2 separate regions of the Homo sapiens genome follow, and region 2 is linked to region 1. Evidence: promoter capture Hi-C in 16 types of primary human blood cells and fetal thymus (Javierre and others, 2016). All regions are on one chromosome and are shown on one strand. Each heading gives the region's core, a stretch centred on a gene start or on the middle of the fragment in contact. The rest is flanking DNA. Distances are from core to core; before and after follow the strand shown.

What was found. The method cuts DNA at HindIII sites, captures the fragments that hold promoters and counts their contacts. A CHiCAGO score of 5 or more calls a contact.
Region 2: a fragment that was not itself captured here is called in contact with the fragment with the promoter of CAMSAP2 in region 1 in 1 of 17 cell types (activated CD4 T cells); the score reaches 6.3 in activated CD4 T cells.

Annotation. Positions count from the first base shown.
Region 1 is chr1:200,737,035-200,740,243 of GRCh38, reverse strand. CAMSAP2 (calmodulin regulated spectrin associated protein family member 2) reads right to left here and starts at 1,351. Exons shown (of 17, transcript NM_203459.4): 1 at 278-1,351. The coding sequence starts at 416. RefSeq lists silencers at 542-611, 642-1,001 and an enhancer at 1,642-1,721. The HindIII fragment of the contact is 5,817 bases long and covers 1-3,209 here.
Region 2 is chr1:201,018,015-201,021,489 of GRCh38, reverse strand. All of the region lies in intron 1 of KIF21B (kinesin family member 21B), which reads left to right. Among named protein-coding and RNA genes, the nearest start is that of KIF21B, 4.0 kb to the left of the region's middle. RefSeq lists enhancers at 1-19, 1,550-1,649, 1,755-2,049 and a silencer at 250-399. The HindIII fragment of the contact is 1,245 bases long and covers 1,361-2,605 here.

The sequences.
Region 1 (3,209 bases), core at 102-2,601:
AAAACATAAAATTGCTCACTGGGGGATGGGGGGGACATTTTGCCATCCAATAAAAGGAATCTGGCCAAATCCCACCTGACCATTCACGTGCCCTTCATTGAAGACCAAACCTGCTTTCCTTATTTCTCCTTTCTTTCTCTTCCTAGCCTCCCATCATCTCCCTTAACCTGTACGAGAAGACAGGCACGGGGAGGGAGGGATTCGAGAATCGGGAACAAAAACCGAGATGTGGACCACATCAGGAGGAAGAGGGGAGGGAAAGGGTGACACCACTAACCTGTCCCAAAGGCTTTGGCCACCAGCCAGGCCAGATTGCAGGCGATTTTGGCCCTGGAGAAATCATAGTGGTCAAAAGGCTTGATGGCTGGAACAATGAACGTCTTTCTCATCTCCCTGGGGTCTGCAGCATCCCCCATCTTTCACCGCGGCTCCTCGGGATGTCCCGGCCCTAACCTTCACATGGCGTGGCCTCGCCACCACGGGGGTCGGGAGGGAGGGAGAAGCAAGCTCAAACCATCGGGGCCCGGGCGATGTCCGCCCGGGCGCCGACGGAGGAGAAGCTCAGCTGTCCGCGCCGCGCGCCTGCCGCCTCCCGCGGGAGCCGCCGCCGCCGCCGCCGCCGCTCCCGGGCATAGGAATGTGGCGGCGCCGTCTCCGTCCGTCCGTCCGCGCGAGGTCCGCCCCGTGCCCGCGCCCCTCCGAGCCACCCGCCCCGCGAGCCCGCGTGTGAGCGAGGCCGCCTCCCCTTTGTCTCGGTTTAGTCACACGGGCTTGGGGGAGGGTGGAGGCTGGAAGGGCCCGGAATTTTAAGGGAGGGGGGATGGGGGGAGCCTTCAACAATCACGTTGTGGAAAATGTCCCCGCCATCGCGATGCCCGCACGCCCTCGCCTCCCTCTCCCCTTCCCTCGGAGCGGGGAGACCCCTCAGGCCCCGGGTGGGCGGAGGGACGAGCAGGACGAGGGGGAAGCGCGGGGCGAGCTGGCCCACCCAGCGCAGCCCGGCCCCTGCCCGCCGGAGACGCAGCAGCGGAAAACGTCAAAATCACTGCGGCTCACAGGCCGCCGCCGGCCCGTCCCCTCCTCTGTGCTCCCTCCCGTCGCCGTCTCCTCCTTCCCCTGCCGCCGTCGCCGCTGCCGTCTCCCGGGTCTTCCTCCCTTGCTGACGGCGAAGGTGGTGGCCGGGGAGAGGCCGCGAATCCCAAGCTCTCAGTTCCTGTCTTATCAGTAATGTCCTTGTAATTTTTTCCTGCCCCCCTTTCTGCAGCTCGCTGGATCGTTCCCCCTCAGCCGCCGCCGCCGCCGCTGCGGTTTTCCGGCTGCGGCACTGGATGAAGGAGCAGATGCGGAGACTGAGCATGCGCCTTCGCGCGGCTCCGACCCACCCCCCCCAACCCCCGCCCCCGCCCCCGCCCCCTCCCCGCTTCCCTCCCGTCTCCGGCCCACTGAGCATGCCCAGCCTCGCTCCCCGCCCGCGCCCGGGATTCGGGGCGGCTGCCTTTTAATCATCGCTCTGGAGTACTCGCTTCAGTGGACATCCTCCACGTCCCTGGCTTTTGGCTGCTGCTGCCTGCACTGCTGAGAGAGGAAAAGGAAGGGAGGGAGGAGGGAGAGGCCTGGCAATAGCTTTCGTATTCTACTTACACAGTGCTTCATCGAAAAGAGTTGATATTTACTTAAAATGTTCATTATGTGACACACACTTTGCAGCGAACTTGACCTGCACTATCTCATTTAGCCCTCGCAATAATCCTGAGAGGTAGATGTCATTGCTGATTGTCCACGAAAGAGAGGTGGAGTTGATTAGGTCATACATGGAACTTAACCAGGATTGAGGATCTGTGGGGGCTCCAAACCTGTGTTAATTTCATGATATCGAGATATTTTCTTAACTCAGTGCTCTCCACTTAAATTTTATCTCTGAGAGGGCACACGTCCAACAATGCCTCCCCATTCTCTCAGAAAAGAGCATAAATTCTTTCACAAAACAAGCTAATGCCCTTTGTGATCTGGCATCTACAGGCCTTTATAGCTTCATTTTGTCAGAACTGCTCTCTATTTTCTTCAATGAGCATGCCTTCTCAGATCTCTACCTCCTTGCTCAGGGTGGTTCCTCTGTCCACCCAGCTTACTCCTACTGCACCTTCAAACTCCACAGTAGTCACTTCCTCCATGAAGCCTTCCCTGACAGCTGCTGACAACTTTCCAGTCAGGGCTGTCACACAGGTGCCTCCCCTGTTGTTCCCGGAGCACCCTGTTCTTATTTCTGTCGTAGCATCTGTCACATCGTGTGGCAATAATCAGTTACTTGTCGGTTTTTCCCATTGATGACATGATGACAGGGTATATCTCCAGCAGCTATACGGTGCCCAGCCCCATAGTATAATTGCTCAATTAATGGACTACATGTGAATATTATCAAAGTTAACACATACTGAGCTTACTTAAATCACTAGCTCCTCACGTCTCATTTTAATACATTATCTAATTTTATTTTTAAGTGATTGTTGTTGTTATTATTATTATTATTGAGACGGAGTCTTGTTAAGTCGCCCAGGCTGGAGAGTGGTGGCAAGATCTCAGCTCAGTGCAATCTCCACCTTTAGGGCTCAAGCGATTCTCCTGCCTCAGCCTCCTGAGTAGCTGGGACTACAGGCGCGCACCACCACGCCCAGCTGATTTTTTGTGTATTTAGTAGAGATGGGGTTTCACCATGTTGACCAGGCTGCTCTCGAACTCCTGACCTCAGGTGATCCGCCAACCTCAGCCTTCCAAAGCGCTGGGATTACAGATGTGAGCCACTGCGCCCAGCCTATTATTATTATTTTTTGAGACAGGGTCTTGCTTTGTTGCCCTGGCTGGAATACAATGGCAAAATCACAGCTCACTGCAGTCTCAACCTCCCAGGCTCAAGCAATCCTCCCATCTCAGACTCCCATATAGCTGGGATTACAGGCACACATCACCACACCCAGCTAATTTTGTTTATTTTTTGTAGAGATGAGGTCTCCCTATGTTGCCCAGGCTAGTCTCAAACTCCTGGACTCAAGGGATCCTCCCACCTCAGCCTCCCAAAGCGCTAGCATTATCTAATTTTAATCATTATAAAATCCTGTATTATCTTCATTATACAGATGAGAAAACTAAGGCTCAGAAAAAAAAATTAATTACTCTTATTCTGCACAACTAGTAAAGGCAGAGGGCAGCTCCAT
Region 2 (3,475 bases), core at 734-3,233, 280 kb before region 1:
GTTCCCAGTCAGATTGCCCTAAGTGGGGTCTGGGTGCCCCCACGCCTTGCCTTTCAGTTGCTGATCTGGATTGGGGGTGGGGCATTTGAGCATCAGAAGTCAGGCTTTCAGGGTCTCCGGGAAGGTAAGGGCCCCGCCCACTCCTCCCCTCCCACCCCAGCATGAGCGCCCAGCCCCGGCACACGCCAGACCTCAATGGGCAGCCGGCCGTGTACAGCAGACAATGCCTGGACAGAACCCAGTTTCTAATCAGAGAGCTTAGGACTGAGCTGGGGCTGGGCTGGGCTGGGAAGGAGAGCAGATGGTACCAGTGATGGGCTGTAGGGGGAGTTTTCCTTGTTTTTAGATCCTCTTCTACCCATCCTCCCCCGCAGCACCCCCAGAAATCACTTCTCTCACCTGAAAGACTGGGTGGTGGGCTGCACTACAGTAGACCATTTATGGGAAGGGCAAGGCTTGTCCAGGGCCTAGTCCAGCCCCAGGGCTCACTACCTCCTGCCAGGTTCAGCTGTCTTTCTGACTTTCTGGAAGTCCTTTCTTGAATCCAACTGAAGTGCCTTCTGAATTTCCATGAGAATAACATAGCGAGCCTGGAGTCCAGCTCTTCAGACAGGGAAGGCCAGGAATGAGACAGGTGTGGTCTGATTGTGTGTGTGTGTGTGTGTGTGTGTGTGTGTGTGTAGAGGAGAGAGGTCCCAGGGCTATTAGACTAGGTGAGAAGTGCCAGGCCTAAGGCTCTTGGCCCTGCAATCTGTTTGGGATGAAGAGATCGAAGCTGGCTGGCTGTGAAACGCTTCAGTGAAGGCCTGGGCTCCTGGAGAGCCGGAGGAGGAAACTTTCAGGACCTGGGGCTCAGGGTAAGGGAAGAAAGTTCAGGGGTGAGCAGACCCCAAAAGCCCCACCTTGTGGCCTCCCCAGCTAGATGGAATCTGGCCCATCTGTCCCTGAACCCAGGCTAGTCGGCTTTGCACCAAGGGATTCCCAGGCTGGCCTCTCCAGCCTGCCCTGTGATCCCTTTATCCATTAATCCCCTTGTACTGTAAAGATTCTCAGCTTCCTGGGCTGGACTAGAACTGGCAGTCACCTGGGGGAGGAGGTGTGTAGCAAGGCTAGAGAGAGGTGGGGCGGAGCTGTGACCTGCCCCAGGCTGCAGAGATATAGGCCTGACAAATGGGGCGAGAAAGGGGTAGCTGTTAAGAAATGCAAGTTGGCAAAGTTGAAATTGGGGAAGGAAGCTAAGTCACATGGCAAATTTGTTTAAGACCCTTTCAAGTCCCCAGCTCTGAGCCCCCACCATGAGGGGAGACCTCAGTGTTGCCTAGCCCCCTCCCCTCTTATCTCTGCCTGGCTTCCCTAAGCTTCCTTCCTTTAGTCTGCTTGGCGGTGCTTGGCCAGCCCAGCATCCATCTGTTGATACTACAGGGTTAAGTAGGGGATAGGTAGGGGTTTGGGGGGGATCCAAGGGACCCAAGGGACAATGTTAGATTGCACCCCAGCCCTCTCCCATTTGGGTTCTCTAGCTGCAGTTATTTCCCTAGTTCTAGGCTACTCTGAAATCTTGGTCAATGACTGTCTGAATTTTGAACCAAGAGCAGTGGTGGCTTGGGAGAGAAAGACTGAAGAAGACAGAAGAAACTGTGGGGGAATGGGTATTTGGGGTGCCTTCCGAGTCCCAAAGCCAGTCAATGCCAATCAATGCCACCTGTGTCCAGTTTACAGATCTCAGAAACTGAGGCCCATACAGGGCCTCATGTGGGCTGTGTGGAGACCTGAGAATCTTGGTGGTGGCCTCCTGCTGCAGAAATAGGGTTTATGTCATCATAAGGAAGTGGAGTGTAGTAACCACAGGCCCCGGAAACCTCCCCCTCCACCACCCAGCCTGCCTGCCTGATTGGATCTCAGCTTTTGAAAACCTCCAAGTGGAGGTGAGGCGGGGCCCAGGCCTGGGCCAGGGAGGTGGCAGAGGTGATATGTGCCTGGCATGCTTATTTTTGCAACCCTGGGGGCAAAGGGCAGGGCAGGAACTGATGCAATTCATCCACTGGCTTCGTCATGGGGCACCTTCCCTGTTTGTCTTTTGTGGGCCTCAGTTTTACCCACTGGAAAATGGGAACTGCTGTGTTCTGGTTTGTTCATTTGTGAAGAGCAGTGGCTTGGAGGAAGACGGACATAAAATCTTTGGAGGGAACAAAATGCAGAGTAGATTCCTGAGGAATTGAATATAAATAAAATGTTTTTTTAAAAAAAATGGGTCCTAGGCCAGGCGCAGTGGCTCATGACTGTGATCCCAGCACTTTGGGAGGCTGAGGCAGGTGGATCACAAGGTCAGGAGTTCAAGACCAGCCTGACCAATATGGTGAAGCTCCATCTCTACTAAAAATACAAAAATTAGACGGACATGGTGGCGCATGCCTGTAGTCCCAGCTACTCAGGAGGCTGAGACAGGAGAATCACTTGAACCTGGGAGGCGGAGGTTGCAGTGAGCTGAGATCGCACCACTGCACTCCAGCCTGGGTGACTAAGCAAGAATCTTTCTCAAAAATAAAATAAAATAAAATGGGCCCTAATGTAAGTGTACCTAAGAGATGTCTCTGTAGTTTAAGCTTTAGTGAACTATTTAGTAAATTGAATTCACCTCCAGTCCTTTGATTAATATATTAATTTAGAGCAGAATGCATGGTGTGGTGGAGAGGAGTATGAACCAGGAGGTGGCTAAGCACTATAATGTATTGAACACTTACTCTGTGCCTACAGCATCCCATTCAGCTGGCTAGGTGATTGATGTTATTCCCATCATATAGATGCACAAACACAGGTGGCAAATGGAGGAGGCTGGATTTGAACCCAGGGTATTCTCAGTTGTGAACACATGCTCTTCATGCAACTCTAAGCTGCCTCCTAATTGAGGTGCTAATTAGCTGTGTTCTTGAAGTCTCTATGCCTCAGTTTCTTCAAATGCTTTACTACACACAGTGGCCGTGAACATGAATGTGGGAAAGTGAAAATGGAAAGGCACATGGTGCTGTGCAGATGTGTGGCAGGGCTGAGGCTGTCCAGATTCTCCTGTATGGGATTGCTTAGCAGCATGGGGCTGCCTGGCACCACCATGGTCCTAGCTCCTAAATCCGTGCTGTCATCGTTTGTGTTTGGGGAGCTTCTCCAGCCACATTCTCCCTTTCTTAGATCACTGCAGCCATCCCTGGCATGTGTCTTCCTGCCTGAATTCCACCTTGGCACTCTCTCAGGAAGGATATTCTGGGGGCAGCCAAGTCTTTTGCTGGCCCCCCACCTCACACACACCAAAGGGCGGAACCCCATGTGTGCTAGGTCTCCTAGCCTTTCATTTTACCCTCTAGAAAGTATTGAGAACATTGAGGAGGAAAGCAATGTCTTCTGTGCCCCTCCCTCTTAGAACAGCCAGAGGGGCACTGAGAGGGCCCTGGGCTGGGTGGGGGTCAGAGGTTGCTTCCCTGCC